Linked DNA regions of Homo sapiens: region 1 is linked to region 2. Evidence: promoter capture Hi-C in 16 types of primary human blood cells and fetal thymus (Javierre and others, 2016). All regions are on one chromosome and are shown on one strand. Each heading gives the region's core, a stretch centred on a gene start or on the middle of the fragment in contact. The rest is flanking DNA. Distances are from core to core; before and after follow the strand shown. Region 1 overlaps FGFR1 (fibroblast growth factor receptor 1). Region 2 holds the start of RAB11FIP1 (RAB11 family interacting protein 1).

Region 1 (4,845 bases), core at 1-2,500, 520 kb after region 2:
GTCTTTTTATAGTAGTCGATGTGGTGAATGTCCCGTGCGAGGCCAAAGTCTGCTATCTTCATCACATTGTCCTCTGTCACCAGGACATTCCTGGCTGCCAGGTCTCGGTGTATGCACTGAGGAAGGAGGAAGGGAGAGCGGGAGGCGGGGAGGTGAGGGAGCTGGAAGGCTCTGGGCGGCCGCCACCCATGCAACTAGCCGACTTGTCTCATAGAACTTCTGCCACACTGCTCTGCCCCCCGAACCTTTGCTTTCCCTCTTCTAACATTCTCTGCCAGCTCCAGGCTTCTCATCACAGCAAGCGCTCCTCCCTTCCTTCCCCAAAGACTGGCCCCTTATGCCTCTGCTGCGTCTGCAGCGATGCATGCTCCTAGGTCCTGCCTCCCAGCACAGCAAGTCCACATGGGGCTGGGCTCAAACCAGGCCAGCCCTTACACACCAAACACTGCACTCAACACTCACAGACAGTTTCATTTTATCTTCATAACAATTCTACAACAGGTATTGTTATACTTTATTTTCTTTTGAGACAGGGCCTTGCTCTGTCGCCCCGGCTGGGGTGCAGTGGTGTGATCATGGCTCAGTGCAGCCTCAAACTCTTGGGCTCAAGCTAGCCTCCCACCTCAGCCTCCCGAGTAGCTGGGACTATCGGCACGCACTACCACACCCAGCTAATTTTTTAATTTTTTTTTTTTTTTTAAAGACGGGGTTTCAATATATTGCCCAACCTGGTCTCACACTCCTGAGCTCAAGCAATCCTCCCGCCTTGGCCACTGCACCCAGCTGATATTATTATTATTTTGTATTTGAAGAATTTTAAGATGCTAAGTAGCTGCCTGAGGCTACGCAGAAAGTGGCAGTGCACAGATCGGACCCTGCATCAGTCTGACCCCAAGGCCACCTGGCTACACTGGTGCTCCTGACTCTGCAGTTCCCAGAGAGCCTAAGACAACACACAGGGCACACAGGGCCAGTGCTCAGTGCATCCACAACGCCACCACAAGATGATAAGTCACAGGCTGGAAGACTAGGGGGGCTCTGTTCCCACCCTGGCATTACCCAGGGGAGCCTTCAGGTTCCACACCTTCTTGGAGGCCAGATACTCCATGCCTCGGGCCACCTGGTAGGCGCAGGACACCAGGTCCTTGGAGGAGAGCTGCTCCTCTGGGTTGTGGCTGGGGTTGTAGCAGTATTCCAGCCCTGGGGGCCTCCGGGCCTGCAGGTACTCCCGCAGGTTGCCCTTGGAGGCATACTCCACGATGACATACAAGGGACCTGCAGGCACAGGAGAAGAGGCCATGGGGCCAGCAGCAGGTGAGCAGGTTTGGCTTCACCTCAAAGAAACCCCACCCCCAGCAGCACACCCCGGCCAACCTCCCATCTCCTGCCTCCTCTTAGGGGACCTGGGAAATCCATTCTACTACCCAAAAAAAATCAGAGAAATAATTACTCCCAGCATAGTCCAGAAAATTCCCGAGCAACATTGGGGTAAGAGCCCCAGTTTGTCTGTTTATTTTGAGATGGAGTCTCACTCTGTTGCCCAGGCTGGAGTGCAGTGGCGCAATTTCGGCTCACTGCAACCTCTGCCTTCTGGATTCAAGTGATTCTCCTGCCTCAGCCTCCCAAGCAGCTGGGATTACAGGCATGAACAATGCCTGGCTAATTTTTTTTTTTTTTTTTTTTTTTTTTGAGATGGAGTTTTGCTCGTTGCCCAAGCTGGAGTGCAATGGCGCGATCTCGGCTAACCGCAACCTCCGCCTCCCGTGTTCAAACGATTCTCCTGCCACAGCCTCCCGAGTAGCTGGAATTACAGGCATGCGCCACCACGCCCGGCTACTTTTTGTATTTTTAGTAGAGATGGGGTTTCACCTGTTGGCCAGGCTGGTCTCCAACTCCTGACCTCAAGTGATCCACCCGCCTCACCCTCCCAAGGTGCTGGGATTACAGGCGTGAGCCACTGTGCCTGGCCTATTTATTTATTTTATTTTTGAGACAGCGGGAGTATCTCCCAAGCTGGAGTACAATGGCGTGATCTTGGCTCACTGCAACCTCCACCTCCCGGGTTCAAGCAAGTCTTATGCGTCAGCCTCCTGAGTAGCTGGGATTATAGGCATGCGTGACCATGCCTGGCTAACTTTTGTATTTTTTAGTAGAGATGGGGTTTCACCATTTTGACCAGACTGGTCTCGAACTCCTGATCTCAAGTGATCTTCCTGCCTCGGCCTCCCAAATTGCTGGGATTACAGGCATGAGCCACTGCACCCAGCCTGAGCGCTCTTAGACCATAATTACTCAGCTGCCTCTGTTAACACACCACGTGTGTGAATCTAGGTATCTGTATTCCTGAATGAACACCAATGAGCGGAGCCCAGATCCCGAGATAACACATTTTAAACCTCTGCCAAAGCAGCCTCTCTTAACCCCCTTCCCTAGCTGTGGCTGAGAGAGGCCTTGGGACTGATACCCCAGCTCAGATCTTCTCCCCGCTGGGCAGGGAAAGCCAGTCTGGCCGGCACCCACCATCCTGCGTGCAGGCCCCCAGCAGGTTGATGATATTCTTATGCTTCCCGATCATCTTCATCATCTCCATTTCTGAGATCAGGTCTGACAAGTCTTTCTCTGTTGCGTCCGCTTTAAAGAACACGTTGAGACTCATTTACTTGGGAAGGGAGGAGGGCAGGATAAAGGCTAAGGGAGTGGGGTATGTGTCGAGGGGCTGCTTTTCCCTGGGACTTGATTCTCTCCTCCCCACTTCATCCAAACTTGTTTTCTCTTCCCTCTCATGGGAGCCGTTGTTGCAATAGGTGGTAGTGAGTGGGCAGGGATGTGGTGAGGAAAGCCTGCAAGCGATGGATCCAGGATAAACACCTGACCACAGCCCAGGTTGACGCCAAGGAACAGAGTGACGTCATAGAACAATCTCAAGGTGCAGAACACCCCCTCCACTCCCAGGTAACCCCAAGCAGGCAGCGGAGCAGGTGTGGGCAGCAAAGGCACCAGAGAAGCTGTTCTGCTGGGCCCGAGGCCTGCTGTTTGCTTGGAATGGGACAAGATTTTCTTTGCAAGGACAGAAGCATCACTTACACTTCAACATCTTCACAGCCACTTTGGTCACACGGTTGGGTTTGTCCTTGTCCAGCCCGATAGCCTCTGCCAACACCACCTGCCCAAAGCAGCCCTCTCCCAGGGGTTTGCCTAAGACCAGTCTTTCGGGGGAAACAGAGAGTGGCATAAGTTGGGGCTGGTGAAGTTCAAACCTTGAGAGGCACCCCATCTCCACCTCTCTGTATTTCACCCAACTGCGAGCAGAAAGTGGAATGAATGTTTCTGCAGGCATTTCATGAACCTTCACCGCCCAGAAGGTGTTAGTATACACACCTTCCACCACTAGAATAGCAAGCAAGGAATGCCTTCAAAAAGTTGGGAGTCAAAGTATTATTACCTGTCCCGAGGCAGCTCCCAGCGAGGGTCTTCGGGAAGCTCATACTCAGAGACCCCTGCTAGCATGGGAGTCCCACTGGAGGAGAGCCGTGATGGCCGAACCAGAAGAACCCCAGAGTTCATGGATGCACTGGAGTCAGCAGACACCTGCAAGGAAGAGTGGGGTCACCCTAGAGCAAGGAGGGGGGACGGGGTGACTCCTTCCCATTCTTAGTCAGGGCTTCCCAACAATGGCAGAGGCACATGTCTGTGTATCTGATGTTCTTTCCTCAACACAGAGTGGTCCAAAGACCATGGTAGGCCAGGAGGCCCAACTTCTAGGACTGACCTATTTCTGCCACAAGCTGGCCTTTCTGGACTTCACTCACCTTTAAAATAAGCAGACCAAATGCACCTCTTCCAGCTTGACATTTTATAACTGATCATTGCAGTAACAACTCTGTTCTCCTGACTCTTTGCAAATACTTTGCCTTAGCTTATGGATTCCTAACTCCCAAAGCACCTTCCAGAATGAGCACAGGCTTCTGAGGGAACGGTCATTCTTGCACACACCTGTGCCATCTGTACCATTTCCTCCCGTGGGGAAGGGTGGGCACACAGGGGACAAGGGTATGGTATGGCTGAGATGGTTTGGCTGTGTCCCCACCCAAATCTCATCTTGAATTCCCACGTGTTATGGGAGGGACCTGGTAGGAGGTCATTGACTCATGGGGGCAGGTCTTCCCTGTGCTGTTCTTGTGATAGTGAATAAATCTCACGAGATCTGATGATTTTATAAAGGGGAGTTTCCCTGTACAAGCTCTCTTCTCGTCTGCCGCCATGTGAGACGTGCCTTTTGCCTTCTGCAATTGTGAGGCCTCCCCAGCCACGTGGAACTGTGAGTCCATTAAACCTCTTTCTTTTGTAAATTGCCCGGTCTTGGGTATGTCTTTCTCAGCAGTGTGAAAATGGACTAATACAAACAGTTCTCTTCTCTACCCTGCATCTCTGCACTTCTAAGCAGCCCTTGGGGACAGTTCAAATTCATGCTATTGGCTGCACATTCTGTCCAAATAGGACTTCCTCCCAATCCATGTCCCAGGAGTCCGGAGGACTTGCAGTGTGATATGGAGGGTGCAGGAAATTCACGGGCTACACTAGCTTGAAACAGACTCTAGAGCACTTAGTTCATGATATTCCACTGTGCCTTGCCCAGAAGCCAGAAAATAAGGCCCAAAGCTATAAATTAGGGACAATGGAGAGGGCAGGGCATTAGAGGCCCAGAGAGAGAGGTGGTGCTGAGTGTGCAAATCCCCCATCTACTTTCTGTTACCTGTCTGCGCAGAGGGATGCTCTTGGCCAGCTTGTGCACAGCCATCTGGCTGTGGAAGTCACTCTTCTTGGTACCACTCTTCATCTTGTAGA
Region 2 (4,655 bases), core at 2,139-4,638:
AGACCAGCCTGACCAACATGGTGAAACCCCATCTCTACTAAAAATACAAAAATTAGCCGGACATGGTGGCGGGTGCCTGTAATCCCAGCTACTCGGGAAGCTGAGGCAGGAGAATTGCTAGAACCCAGGAGGCAGAGGTTTCAGTGAGCCGAGATCACGCCATTGCACTCCAGCCTGGGGGACAGAGTGAGACGCCATCTCAAAAAAAAAAAAAATTCCACCTTTCAATGCATATCTTATTCTTTAAATCTCAGCTATCTTGGGCACCAGGGCATCAGACAGCACCCTTGGCACCTTGGAAAGTCCCAGAAAGTTGTAGATGGAAAGTGGAAATTTCATCTACCCATAGAGATGCAAAGAAGCCTTCCTTTGCAGTTATTTTAAGAAAGAAAAAAAAATCAACTAAGCACCATTTTCCTGGAAGTCAATACTGTGACTAGGTGGTAATCGGTTCACATAATAGGTGGGAGTTATTGTATAGGTTTAGGGTTACATTGGATAAAATAAGAAAAATGAAGATGCAGAGACTGAACTCTTCCTGAAAAAAAGAGAGCTCAAGGTTTCAATCTCTCACAAAGCAGTTGCCAACCTTTTCAATCACTTCTTGGATACATTGGCCCCATTAATCCAGGAACCCAGAAACATCTTACAAACATCAATTAAGTCTGGCAACATGCTCTATTTACAAATAGAGAAACTTGGGTGTTTAGGGACAGAGAAGCCCAACAATGAGTCAGGGCTGCTGTGGGCACTGGACCCAGGACTCTGGAATCTCCATCTCTGGCAGGGAGATGTGATCTACCTCTCAAGGGGATAAAATGTCCACATAAGAAACAGGTGGCAGAGAAGGAAGTGAATACACACATGTTGGGATGGCGCAAGACAACGGATGGCCAACAGCACCCATTTGAAGCTGAAGGGAAGCCAACCCACCACCCCCAGTGTCATTTAATCAGATGGAAGATCAGCATTGCTGCAGCCCCTCCTTAGCAAAAACACTGCTCACCTTATGGCTTGTAAATTGATGCTGTGAGATACCCCATCCATCCTCACATCAAGGCTAGTTTTATCTGATGTGAGTTCAGAAATGCCTATTCATCTCTGGCCAGGTAAGTTTGCATCATCAAATATTCCATTTGCAAGCCTACATGCTGAAATGGAACCCACCCCACAGTAAAGGGAGCCTCCAGAGGACAAACCCTCTGGCTTTTCCTGTCTCCCACAGAAGGGAAAGTTAAAAGGCTATGTATATCTAAAACACACAAAGCAAATCAGTGTGATTCCTAGACTATAGGCTTTCGGTGCTAACTGACTGGCCTGTGTATTTAAGATCTAACAAAGTAACCAGCTAAGCTAATCGAGGCTAGCTTTGGCATACTAGATGAACATAATCGAACGTTCCTTTGGGTGAAGCACTGCCCTTTCCGAACACCTGTGAAACAAATAATTCGGTAATATCATGGAGTGAATGGTTTTTGCCCAGTTTTTACTGCAGAAGTGAAATAACCTGACACAATCTTTGGGAGCTACAGGCGAGCAGACATCCACCAGGATTAGGACCAGAGAGAAGAACTCTACCAACTCCAAAAGGAAACAATGCCCAGTTCTGCTCCGTCAAGGGCCCACCCGGGCTCCTTCCAACCTGGAGAAATCTTTACTAACATGGGGCCCAGGGCACACACCACACTGTTGTAACATTCTTTCTGTAGGGGCAAATTCTCTTCACCAACCCCCTAGGCAAGTATGAGGTAGGGGAAGGGGTTAGCAAGTCATGTGACAGCCGGCAAACGCCATTCCCCTCCCCCAACCTCCACCCACCCCGCATTGTAAAGGCGTTGCGCCCGGGGTTAGCCTTTAGGGTGGGGGTGTCAGCTGGTTTCATGCCTCCTGTTCCTCTGCCCTGCGCCCTGGCCCAGTCATTCTCGGCTCGAAGTGTTCTTCTATTCAGTGAAATACCCAGGAGGCCTTCCACCCAAGCGAAGGCGAGTATCAGACACGGGCTACCACCCTAGTAAGAAGAAGGCACCTGCCCACGTATAGTTGGAATTCATCTAAAATTCACTTAGTGCTTACTGTGTGCCAGACGCTGAGGGGCGTCCTGCAGATTCAAAAGCGCCCCAGGCCCGGCGCGGTGGCTCACGCCTGTAATCCCAATACTTTGGGAGGCCGAGGTGGGCGGATCACCTGAAGTCAGAAATTCGAGACCAGCCTGGCCAACACGGTGAAACCCCGTCTCTACTAAAAATACAAAAATTAGCCGGGCGGGCCGGGCGCGGTGGCTCACGCGTGTAATCCCAGCACTTTGGGAGGCCGAGGTGGGTGGATCACGAGGTCAATAGTTCAAGACCATCCTGGCCAATCTGATGAAACCCCGTCTCTACTAAAAATACAAAAATTAGCCGGGCGTGGTGGCGCACGCCTGTAGTCCCAGCTACTCGGGAGGCTCAGGCAGGAGAATCGCTTGAACCCAGGAGGCGGAGGTTGCAGTGAGCCGAGATCGTGCCACTGCACTGCAGCCTGGCGACAGAGTGAGACTCAGTCTCAAAAAAAAAAAAAAAAAAATTAGCCGGGCGTGGTGGTGCGCGCCTGTAATCCCAGCTACTCGGGAGGCTGAGGCAGGAGAATCACGTGAACCTGCGAGGCGAAGTTTGCAGTGAGCTGAGATCGTGCCATTGCCATTGCACTCCAGCCCGGGCGACAGAGACTCTGTCTAAAAAAAAAAAAAAAAAAAGCGCCCCAGATACGGCCCCTTCTTCCAAGAAGACCCAAAGCTGGCAGAGCTGGGCGGGACAGCCGCAGAAGGGGAAGCCAGGTGAGAACACCAGCACCGGCCGAGGGCTCCGTCCCGAAAGGCCTTCCCCGCTGCTGCCCGGCTTACTCTCGAAGGGTCCAGCGCCCAGACCGCCCTGCCGGAGGGGTCCGCGCCCCCAGGCCGGGCCCTCCCCTCCCCGCCCGCACTCACTGCGTCTTCCTGCGGCCCTGGTCGCGGTGCAGATCCCGCAGGTCCACCTCGGCGCGGCCCAGGAACTTGTCGAGGCCGAGCAGCGCGCGGTGCAGCACGGTGAGCTGCAGGGTGGCGGCGGCCGCGGGTCCGGAGGACAGCAGCGATGGCAGCTCGAAGGTGGCCTCCTCGCGCCACACGGGCGCGCCCAGGCTGCGCTCCGACACGGAGGTGGCGTACTTCTCCTTGCCCACCTGGATCACCGCGTACGCGTCGCTCGTGCCCCCGGGGCCCTTGGCCCGCAGGCCCCGCGCCTGCAGCACCGTCACCTGCACGTGGGTTGGGGACCACACGGCCCCCAGGCCCCGGCCAGCCGAGACCATTAGGGACATGGTGACGATAACACTCCAGAAGCGAGGAGAAGATCGCCGCGACTGGCGGCCTCCACGGCCCGCCCCGGCGACCAGGCCACTTTAAGGCTTCCGGCCACACCCCCGCCAGGCCACGCCCCTCATGGCCAAGGCCACGCCCCTGCCCGAGCCGCCTGCTCCACCTGCTGCGCCGCGCCCCGCCCCGCCCCGCCCCGCCCCGCCGGCCTCAGCAGCGCGGGCAGCTCCGGGCACCCGGGCGCCGGAGGCGGGGCTGGCGCGGCCAGGCAGGCAGGGGATCACGTGCGCAGGGGCGGGCGCATCGAGAATCTAATCTGAGAGGTGGTAGGTGACGGATGGGGTCCCCAGCTGCCAAAGGTCGCACGGCGGGAAGGAGCTGGCCGAAGCACTGACTTGGAAGTCAGACCTCATTTCCAGGGTCACATCGCCAGTCGTGGCCTTGCGCGGATTACCTAACATCAAGTCTCAATTTCTTCACCTGACAATCACCTCCTAGGATTGCTGTAAAAAATAATAATAATAATGCATTACAGTTCTTGGCCCAGTGCCTGGCTCATGGTGAGTTCTCAGTAAATAACCATGACCAGCACGTTGGGAGGCTGAGACAGGAGGATCTCCTGAGCCCAGGAGTTCGAGACCAGCCTGGGCAACATAGCCAGATCCCCGTCTCTACAAAAAAAATTAAAAATAATTAGATAGGAGTGGTGGCAAGCGCCTGTGGTCCCCGCTACTTGGGAGGCTGAGTCTGGAGGATCTCTGGAGCCCAGGAGGTCGAGGTGCAGTGAGCCGAGATCGTGCCACTGCACTCCCAGCCTGGGCAACAGAGCAAGACCCTGTCTCAAAAAAATAAAGTTGGTAACTATGAGGGTGCTAAGGAAGATGCCCACCCAATTCACTGTGCTTTCTACTTCTCCCGCTGGAAAGCCTTGCTCTGGAGGAAGGCAGCTGCAGAGGAAGGTGAGGACCTTGTGAGGGCCGGAAAAGGGGAAGGTATCCTGGGGAGCATGAGTTCAATGTGGGAGTGTCCTATTTTGCCCTCCCCCCACCAGATAAGGCGAGGCTGAGTTAGAAAAAGGGAAGAAAGGAGGAACTGAAAATGGGATTGCCAAATCAAACATCGGGACAGTGGCAGGCCCCCAGCCCGCAGTTCCCCATTTCTCCCTTGCCAGGCCCTCTTTAGTCTCTCCCTGCCTCTATCCCTGGGCTCCCAGGCAGTCCCTTTCTTGTTCCAAATGCCTAATAGATCGGCTGCTTCCCTTCATTTCACAGGTCCTAGTTCAAAGGCTCAACTGTTTAACGAGTCATCAGATTGGAAAGGTCACTTG

Evidence for each region. The method cuts DNA at HindIII sites, captures the fragments that hold promoters and counts their contacts. A CHiCAGO score of 5 or more calls a contact.
Region 1: a contact is called between a fragment that was not itself captured here and the fragment with the promoter of RAB11FIP1 in region 2, in 1 of 17 cell types (neutrophils). The highest score is 5.4, in neutrophils.

Annotation. Positions count from the first base shown.
Region 1 is chr8:38,414,786-38,419,630 of GRCh38, forward strand. It overlaps FGFR1 (fibroblast growth factor receptor 1), which reads right to left. Exons shown (of 18, transcript NM_023110.3): 9 at 4,748-4,845; 10 at 3,443-3,588; 11 at 3,085-3,206; 12 at 2,521-2,631; 13 at 1,085-1,275; 14 at 1-116. Among named protein-coding and RNA genes, the nearest start is that of LETM2, 31 kb to the left of the region's middle. RefSeq lists enhancers at 593-1,363, 1,804-2,469, 3,378-4,141. The HindIII fragment of the contact is 8,773 bases long and covers 1-4,845 here.
Region 2 is chr8:37,896,109-37,900,763 of GRCh38, forward strand. RAB11FIP1 (RAB11 family interacting protein 1) reads right to left here and starts at 3,389. Exons shown (of 6, transcript NM_001002814.3): 1 at 2,963-3,389. The coding sequence starts at 3,333. RefSeq lists an enhancer at 1,012-1,644 and silencers at 2,774-3,203, 3,424-3,653. The HindIII fragment of the contact is 20,306 bases long and covers 1-4,655 here.